3 separate regions of the Homo sapiens genome follow, and regions 1 and 2 are each linked to region 3. Evidence: promoter capture Hi-C in 16 types of primary human blood cells and fetal thymus (Javierre and others, 2016). All regions are on one chromosome and are shown on one strand. Each heading gives the region's core, a stretch centred on a gene start or on the middle of the fragment in contact. The rest is flanking DNA. Distances are from core to core; before and after follow the strand shown.

The links. Contacts are between HindIII fragments. The CHiCAGO score rates a contact against its expected background, and 5 or more counts as called.
Region 1: a contact is called between a fragment that was not itself captured here and the fragment with the promoter of UBE2U in region 3, in 1 of 17 cell types (naive B cells). The highest score is 6.5, in naive B cells.
Region 2: a contact is called between a fragment that was not itself captured here and the fragment with the promoter of UBE2U in region 3, in 3 of 17 cell types (endothelial precursors, non-activated CD4 T cells and fetal thymus). The highest score is 9.2, in endothelial precursors.

Annotation. Positions count from the first base shown.
Region 1 is chr1:63,640,562-63,643,312 of GRCh38, forward strand. All of the region lies in intron 7 of PGM1 (phosphoglucomutase 1), which reads left to right. Among named protein-coding and RNA genes, the nearest start is that of PGM1, 49 kb to the left of the region's middle. The HindIII fragment of the contact is 5,978 bases long and covers 1-2,751 here.
Region 2 is chr1:63,678,712-63,681,769 of GRCh38, forward strand. All of the region lies in intron 1 of LOC105378771 (a long non-coding RNA gene), which reads left to right. Among named protein-coding and RNA genes, the nearest start is that of PGM1, 87 kb to the left of the region's middle. The HindIII fragment of the contact is 1,571 bases long and covers 832-2,402 here.
Region 3 is chr1:64,202,121-64,204,966 of GRCh38, forward strand. UBE2U (ubiquitin conjugating enzyme E2 U) reads left to right here and starts at 1,503. Exons shown (of 10, transcript NM_001366232.2): 1 at 1,503-1,996. The coding sequence starts at 1,931. The HindIII fragment of the contact is 16,836 bases long and covers 1-2,846 here.

The DNA of each region.
Region 1 (2,751 bases), core at 35-2,534, 560 kb before region 3:
TCGTAGTATGTACAGTAACTTCTTTTTCCACAGACCCATGTGGGAAGCCTTGGTCAAGAGGGATCAGAGCCCCAGAGCCAAGTAGGAATCCCTGGTGCTGACCCACAGGGAACAGGCCTGAAGACAGGATAGCACAAGCTGCTCCTCTTACACAACAGGCCTTCAAATACAAGAAGCAGCTCTCAGGTCCTTCCTTCTTCAGGCCGTCCATCTTTGTTTCCTCCAGTCATTCCTCATTTCACATTGTTTATAGACTCAGTGCCAGACTCTAGGTGCTTCTGAGTTTGCCAGTGCCACTCTTAGAAGGTGATGCCCAGAACTGAGCCCAAATCTTCCAGGGTTGGCCTGGCAAGTGAAGAGTGGGGTGGGATGATTATTTCTAGTGATTAGGACACTGTATTTTTCTTGACATAACTTTCCTTTATGTTAGTTTTTAGGAAGTTGCATAATACTGTTTAGCCCACATAAGGTTGTGGGTAATTAAACCCTTAAAGTTTTTACCTAGAACTATTTGCCAAGGGAAGTCTCTCATGTTATGTTTGTGGAATTGATTTCTTTGAACCAAAGTATTAGACTTTAGACTATTGTTAAAGTTTGTTCTCATTTATTAACACATTCAACAAATACCTAGTACCAATCATGGTTTTAGCTTCTCCTTGGTATATTTCATGTCCAAAGAGAGAATGCTCTTCATTATCATGAGGATAATCACAAGCTCTTTCTCTCTCTCTCTCTTCAAAAAAAGAAAATTTTTGTGTAATATTTCTGAGATAAACATTTAAACAGCCAGGCTGCATAGCCATAGATCGCTGTTGTGAACGAGTGCAGCTGGGCTTATTTAACTGAACTCCTGATCTTCTTATTTATAGAGGAGTTAATTTTTAGCAACCACGCCCCTTGCTAGTGAATGTTTCCAACAGTTCTTTCATAGAGTTTCTCAGGGTAGACATTAGTGACTCTATGAACTTTGAAACATTTGAATTCTATAGCTTAATTGAGCACAGAGTGCTTTATTTCTGTATTTTTCCAGGCGATAGGAGAGACAATTTCTCAAAAACGTTTCCTTGACCTTTCAGAGTGGGCCAAATCCCCTGATTATTGGCTCTTGTGGCACCATGTACCTCTTCTTTGTTGTACTTGTTGCAGCTGTGATTTTACAATTACTTATGGTTATTTGATTAATGTCTGTTGGCTGTATATGCCATGAGGACAGAGATCTTATGTGTCTTATCCTGCATTGTGTCCCTCGAGCCTCCCGTAGAGCCCAGCATAGAACAGGTGCTCAGTAAACGCTTGTTGAATGAGTTCATGAACACTATTCACTTGGCACCTTCCATTTAGACAGATTCCTGCTATTGGAAAAGAAAGAACTTTAAAAGGTATCTGATGTAAATTCCTGTATGATGCTGGAACCATAGTGACTGGTCACTGCTTTCTGGCTGAACCACCCACCTCAATGGAGAATCCACACCTCACCTCTTGCCGTAGTCTGGGACCCTTGTAATGACTCAACACCACTTCCACTCCACAGTCCAGGGTTGGGAACCCCAGGGTCTTTGCGGGAAGAAATGCACTTTTACAAAAGAAAAGAAGTTTGCTTGCAAAGAGGTGCAAAGGAGTCTAACTTCAGGACTGGTCCACCGAGTAAAACAAACCACTAGCATCTGCAGAACAATCTTGGAATATTACTAACATTATACATTAGTCTGTTTGTATACATTATACATTAGTCTGTTTGTGCTGGAGGAGCAGCAGCTTTCTCACCTGGATATGGTAACCACAGAAGCTAGGTCACTTACTTCTTCAGAGGTCAGCATTACAAACACCAGGGATAAATGGGGACCAGAACTGGACAGGATAAGCCTGTTGTTGTTTGTTGATCTCATGGTACAAAGCTGTTTTTTCTTCCTAACCGTGGATGATTATGTACATGTTTATACACAATGGTAGAGGGCAGACTGTCAGTTCCATCCCACCTTAGAATTGTTGGGACTTTGAAAGTGAAGTCACTGAATAGTATACAATACCATGCATTTGAACCCTTCCTCAGGAAAATAGGGGGCTTGGGAAAGAGCGATGGGAAACCAGGTTGATGATGAACTTGGTATCACTTAGAGATATGTAAGTTATGATCTGGTCAGGTCTAGAGGCTAGCAATATTTTTTCCCTGTCCTGTCTTTAAAGGTTCTAGTGCTAATGTATCATACAGGAGTGATAACTTAAAGAAATACAGCATTAACACTTTGCAAATTTCTTTTAATTTTTAGTTTCATATGAAAAGTCCTTCATGTTTGCACATTTTGCATTGATTCATTCCTCAAATATTTATTGAACTTTGATTTTATCCTGGATACTGAGTTAGACTCTGGGACACATGGTGAACAAGGCCTTCTCATAGAGGGCTCCATGAATTACAGGTGTGCAAAGCAATAGAAGGTGAAGTACAGGGGTACTTCGGGAGCTTTATTCTCAGGGTGCCTAACTTGGTTCTGTGGTGTAGGAGATCAGATTTTCTTTCTGGCTTTCTGCCCATTCTAATTTGCATAGCTACTGAGTACATTTCCCTGTAGGCAAAGCCCACAGGGGAAGATTGTAGCACCCCATGTCTGGGGATAGCCTAGACAGAATACGCCAGTAGAACTAGGCTTATACCCTAATTATAACTCACTCATTTAAAGTGTTACCTGCCTGTCTGTCTCCCTCACCTGTATGTCTGTGCTCATCTGTGAGGGCAGGGGATACGCCTTGTGC
Region 2 (3,058 bases), core at 367-2,866, 520 kb before region 3:
TGTAATCCCAGCACTTTGGGAGGCAAGAGGTGGACGGGTCGCTTGAGGCCAGGAGTTCAAGACCAGCCTGGCCAACATGGCGAAAACCCATCACTACTAAAAATACAAAAATTAGCCAGGCATGGTGGTGCACACCTGTAATCCCTGCTACTCGGGAGGCTGAGGCAGAATGGCTTGAACTCGGGAGAGGGAGGTTGCAGTGAGCCGAGATTGCACCACAGCACTCCACCCTGGGCAACAGAGCAAGTGAGTCTCTGTCTCAAATTAAATAAATAAATAAAATTTAAAAGTAAATAAAATAAAATAAAATAGGGTTGCCAAATTTTTCAAATAAAGATACAGAATGCCCAGTTATACTTGAATTTCAGATAAACAACAAATAATTTTTTTAACATAAGGAAGTCCCAAATAATGCTAAAAATAATTCCATTATTTAAATTTAACTGAGTGTCCTGGATTTTACCTGGCACCGCCAGAACTGTTAAGAGAAGTGGAAAAAGAGTTCCAGGCAGAGGGAGGAGCTTATTAAATACTGGGAATTAAGAAGACAGTGAGTCAGGGAAACCACAAGATGTTCAGTGTCCAGGAAGAGATGCTCCTATTTCCCAGCCTAGAACAAAGGGATCTGATAGCCCCTCAAGAAGAGAGCTCAAATCTTGCTTTTTTGTCTGTGCCTTCCTATAGCATCTACATGGACACCTGTGGGCATAAGGAGTCCTTCCAACTTCCACTGCCCTTGCCCGCCTTCAGGCCCATCCCATTTCAGATCTCCCAGCAGATTCTCTGCTTTCAACCTCTCTACCAGCATCCAATCCTGTCACATAAGGCTGAAGCTTCCAGGGCCACCTTATCATCATAGATGGCTAGAACTGGGAGGGCATTTGCATTTCAAAGATGAGGCAAGAGTGGATCAAAAAGAGAAAGTGGATTGTACCAAGGACACCCTTGATATGATCAAGGTTAGTGGCAGAGCAAGCATGAGAACTCACATCTGTGACGCCATCCAGGTTTCCTTCTTCTGTACCCCTCAGCACTCTTCCTAAAGTCTTGCTGCTATGACCCCTCCAAGCCTCACAATGAAATTCGGTCCCCAGTGTTGGAAGTGGGACCTAATGGAAGGTATTTGGGTCATGGGGGCAGATCCCTCATGACAGGCTGATGCTGTTCTCACGGTGATGAGTGAGTTCTCAGTCTGTTAGTTCCTGAGAAATCTGGTTGCTAAAAAAGAGGCTGCCACCTCCCTTCTCTTTTTGCTTCTCCTCTCACCATGTGATCTCTGCACACACTGGCTATCCTTGATCTTCCACCATGAGTGGAAGCAGCCTGAAGTCCTCACCAGAAGCAAATGCTGACACCATGCTTCCTGTACAGCCTGCAGAACTGAGAGCCAAATATACCTCTTTAAAAAAAATAAATTACCCAGTCTCAGATATACCTTTATAGCAACACAAATAGAATAAGACAACAGCTTTACCCATTTTGTCTAAATGTTTCTTATTTCTTCATTATCTCAGGAGACAATTAAACCATCCACTCAAACTTTGTCTTATTCATTATGGATGACTGTGTTTTCTCACCTTGAGTAGGTTGCTAATTCTCTAACAAATTAAGTATGTTTGGTGCTTGGGTGTCATGCCCTTCTCATGGGAACTTGTGAAGCCCAGGTGAGTTGATGTTAAGTTTTGGGTCCCAGAAGTCAGAGTTGGGCACAGAACTCTTACCACAATGACCAGTAGTACAAACCACTAGAACAAGGGCTGAGCCAGAGTTCTTGGAATTATCCAAAGATCAAACTGCAGAACTATTATATTAGTGCAAAAGTAATTGCATTTTTCATAATTGTGGTTTTTGCAATTAAAAGTAATTGCAAAGGCTGCAATTACTTTTGCACCAACCTAATATCTCTACGGGCACCCTGAACAGGAGCATGTGGGGTCAGGATCTGGACAGAAATGGAATGAAATGGTTGTAAGTCCAGAGCAGAGAGAAGAGGCAGCAGAATTAGCATGGCATTGTGGGATGAATTATATCCTCCACAAAGAAGATTTTGAAGTGCTAACCTCCAGTACCTCAGAATGTGACCTAATTTGGAAATGGAATCTTCAGAGAAGTAGAGTTAAAATGAGGTCATCAGAGTGGTCCCAATCCAATATGACTGGTGTCCTTCTAAAAAGGGGAGATTTGGACACAAGGGACAGACATACACACAAGAACAATACATGGACATGAAAGTGGAGATTGAGGTGCTGCATCTATAATTCAAGGAATACCGAAGGTTGCCAGCCAACCCCCAGGAGCTAGGAGAGGGGCATGCAACAGATTCTCCCTCACAGCCTCGGAAGGAACCAACCCTGCTGACACCTTAATCTCATACTTCTGGCCTCCAGAACTGTGGGACAATAAGCTTCTGTTGTCCTAAGCCATCCAGTTTTTCATGCTTTGTTATGGCAGCCCTAGCAAATGAATATACATGGAGTATCTTGGAGTGTGCCAGGATTCTGCCATGGACACTTGCTGTCCTCTAACTAGGTGGCATCATCCAGTTCTGTGGCTTCAAAGCCATCTCTAAATCAGTAAATTCCTAATTTAGATCTCCAGCCATGGGCTCATCCCAGAACTTGAAGCTTCTATATCCCACTGTCCATTTGTCACTTTTTTGGATGTCTTTTAGGCACCTCAAATTCATGGGGCTCAAACAGAAATCTTGATCCCCTGCATGATCATAGTCATCTTATTCTTTCCCTGGTGTGATGGTTAATTTTATGTGTCAACTTAGCTGGTCCAGAAGGTGCCCCAATATTTGGTGAAGCATTATCTCTGGGTGTGTCTGGGAGGGTGTTTCTGGGTGAGATGAACATTTGTGTTTGTGGATTGAGGAAAGTTGATTGTCTTCCCTAAGGTGAATGGACTTTATTCAGTCGAGGCCTGAATAGAATAAGAGGCTGAGTAGAAATAATTCTCTCTATATATCTGACTGTCTTTGAGCTGCAACATCAATCCTCTCTTACCTTCAGACTTGGACTGGAACTTACCCCATGGGCTCTTCTGGTTCTCAGGC
Region 3 (2,846 bases), core at 253-2,752:
ACACAAACACTGCGGAAGGCCACAGGGTCCTCTGCCTAGGAAAACCAGAGACCTTTGTTCACTTGTTTATCTGCTGACCTTCCCTCCACTATTGTCCTATGACCCTGCCAAATCCCCCTCTGCGAGAAACACCCAAGAATGATCAATAAAATAAATAAATAAATAAATAAATAAATAAATAAATCAGAGCATGACACTCTCCTGTTTAAACCCATTAAATGGATTCCCATAGCTATTCAAATAAAGCCCAAACTTCCTACTGTATAGTGCCCATCTTTATCACACCCCTCCCAGGCTCCTCCACAACCTCCCTGACCTTCCCTTGTTCCCTTTTCAAGACAAGCTCTTTCCTGACTCAAAAATATCTTGTTTTCCTCTTCCTAGAACTCTCTGCCCTCAATATTTCATGTAGCAGGCTCCTTCTCATCTTTCATGTATGAGTTCAAAACCCCATTCCTTACAGAGGCATTTCCTGACTACCATTTCTAATCCTTAATGACCTACCCCAATCTCTATCATGGTACTGTTTTATTATTGTCCACATAACGTTTATCACCATCTGAAATCATGATTTTTGTTTTGCATACTTGTTTATTGTATATTGGAGCCATAAAGACATTTACTTCATTTGAATCTTTCAAGTAAAAAAAAAGTATTTAATAAATATTTGTAAAATGAATGGACTAAATGAACATCCGGATTCTATAAAATTAGTAAGTAAAAAGTAAAAAAAGAAAGTATTCTGAACAAAGATGCCAGGCTTTGTAGTTGGCGCTGGCAATGGAACCGTGTCTTTCAGTAGTTCCCACTCTGGTGAAGACAATAGACAATTGTGATGCCGTATGGCAAATGTTAACTAGGAGGCAAATAGAAGGTCCTGTGGGATCACAAAAGAAAGGATCCCTTAAAGAGTCGTTAAAATCTGAAGGATGAGTGAGTGAAGGGGAAATGAGGGCTGAAGGGGTGGAAGGAATGTGGTAAACTCCTAGGTAGAAGGAACAGCAGGTGCGAAACTGTGCGGGAAGAGATGGGAATCAGAGAAATTTTAAGCAGTTCCCTGTTCCTGGAGCACTTTCCCAGGGTGATTGTAGGGTTTGATGACATAATAGCATGCACACTACTGTGAATGGTAACTCGCCATGTAAGTTAAGATATTGTTATGCAGACCTGTACCTACCAGTCACTTACTATATCTTTTGATAGTCAAAGAAAAAGGAAGGATAATTTCGAAGAAAGACTTCGTGGGACGGCTTCTGTGACTTACATGCTGGGTCCTGGGACCTCACCCCATCCTCTACACTAGTTTTGTACAGTCCATGTTCGTGGCCTGAGAAGGCGTGGTGTTGCCTTGACCACGAATCTCATTGGCCTTTCAAAGGGGAAACTGTTGTAGGATTGGCTGTGGAGATAGCAAGAGGCCTGCCCCCTGTCGCTGATTGGGTGAGAGCGGCCAACCCCCTGCCTCCGTCTCTCGGCGGCCCCACGGGGGCCTGTTGGTTGGCAACCGATTTGCTTCCTCCGGTGCGTGGCTGCGGGGTTGCACCTGTGAAGCGAAGACAACCTGCTAGGACCCTGATAGGCGTACACCTCTCACTCCCACTCACGCGCCGACGACATGGGCTTGTCTCCGTTACTCATCCAAGTTTGTCTTGAGACTGGGCTGTGAGCCGGCACTGCAGTGAAACGCCGCAGATGAGGAAGTGCCCAAGTCTTCCTTCGGGAAGTTCTCGTTTAGAGGAGTCAGGAGAAAAAGTCATTGTTATATCCCAACTTTAGAAGCCGCTTATCTTGGTACCGTTCTGAGGTTCTAGAAAGCAAGTAACTTATATCAGTTTACTAAGTGTGGGAAAGTGACCCATAACTTCAAACATCTGCCTCAGAGTAAACCTGAGGCATTTGGGGACAAGTGTCAGACCCTCCGCTGCCTATCATGCACGGCAGAGCTTACCTCTTGCTGCACAGAGACTTCTGTGATCTCAAGGAGAACAATTATAAGGTAAGTACTGGGCACGTGGAGAGATGTGTTTCATTGTGCAATAATTTTTAAGAGGCAGTTTAACCCATTTTATTCTATAAGTAGTAATTTAGTTAAACCTGATTTGCCACTACAGTATTGTTATTTAATAAATCCATTTCACTGAAGTAATGTGTTTCATATTAATAACAATTATTATTACTTCAAAATAATAATGCTTAACAATATTGAACATATTATGCAGAGTAATTTATGTGGATCTAGGCACTGAATATCAGGGTCTGTCATGTAGTTAGTGACTAGTAGGTGCAGGCTTATGCTCATTAATTATAATACTATACAATAAGTAGTATTTCATTTTACTTACCAAAAACCTAAGCCTCAGAAATATTCTGTAAAGATTTTGCCCCATGATTCCATTACAGGGTTTTTGGACTTCAAAGCCCTAGTTCTTAATTCCTGTGTTCCACTGCTTACTGTCTAGTGTACTTTTACCAGCATGACACATAAATGCCTTCCCTTTATAGTTTTAACACAAAAGAAGCAATGTCCTTGGGCTTAAACGCCACCAATGAGGTTATCAATGTCCATGGCTGCCACAGGCTGATTTACGGAAAATGAAAAATGGAAGAGGGGGCGAAGAGGGAGTGCTTAAGAGAAAGAACAGAAAGAAAGCTGTCCATGAAAGGTATAGAGTGCTTCCCACAGTTGCTTCAGGTGTAGTTCAGTGGCATTGTTCATTTTTTACCTCTGCTATAAAAGTACTGCATTCACTGGAGATGTTAGGAACAATTATGGAGTCCAACAGCGAACATTCCTGGGGCATGGACCTAACATTTGATATTGTTTCTGCTCATCCTGAGCTCTGTAG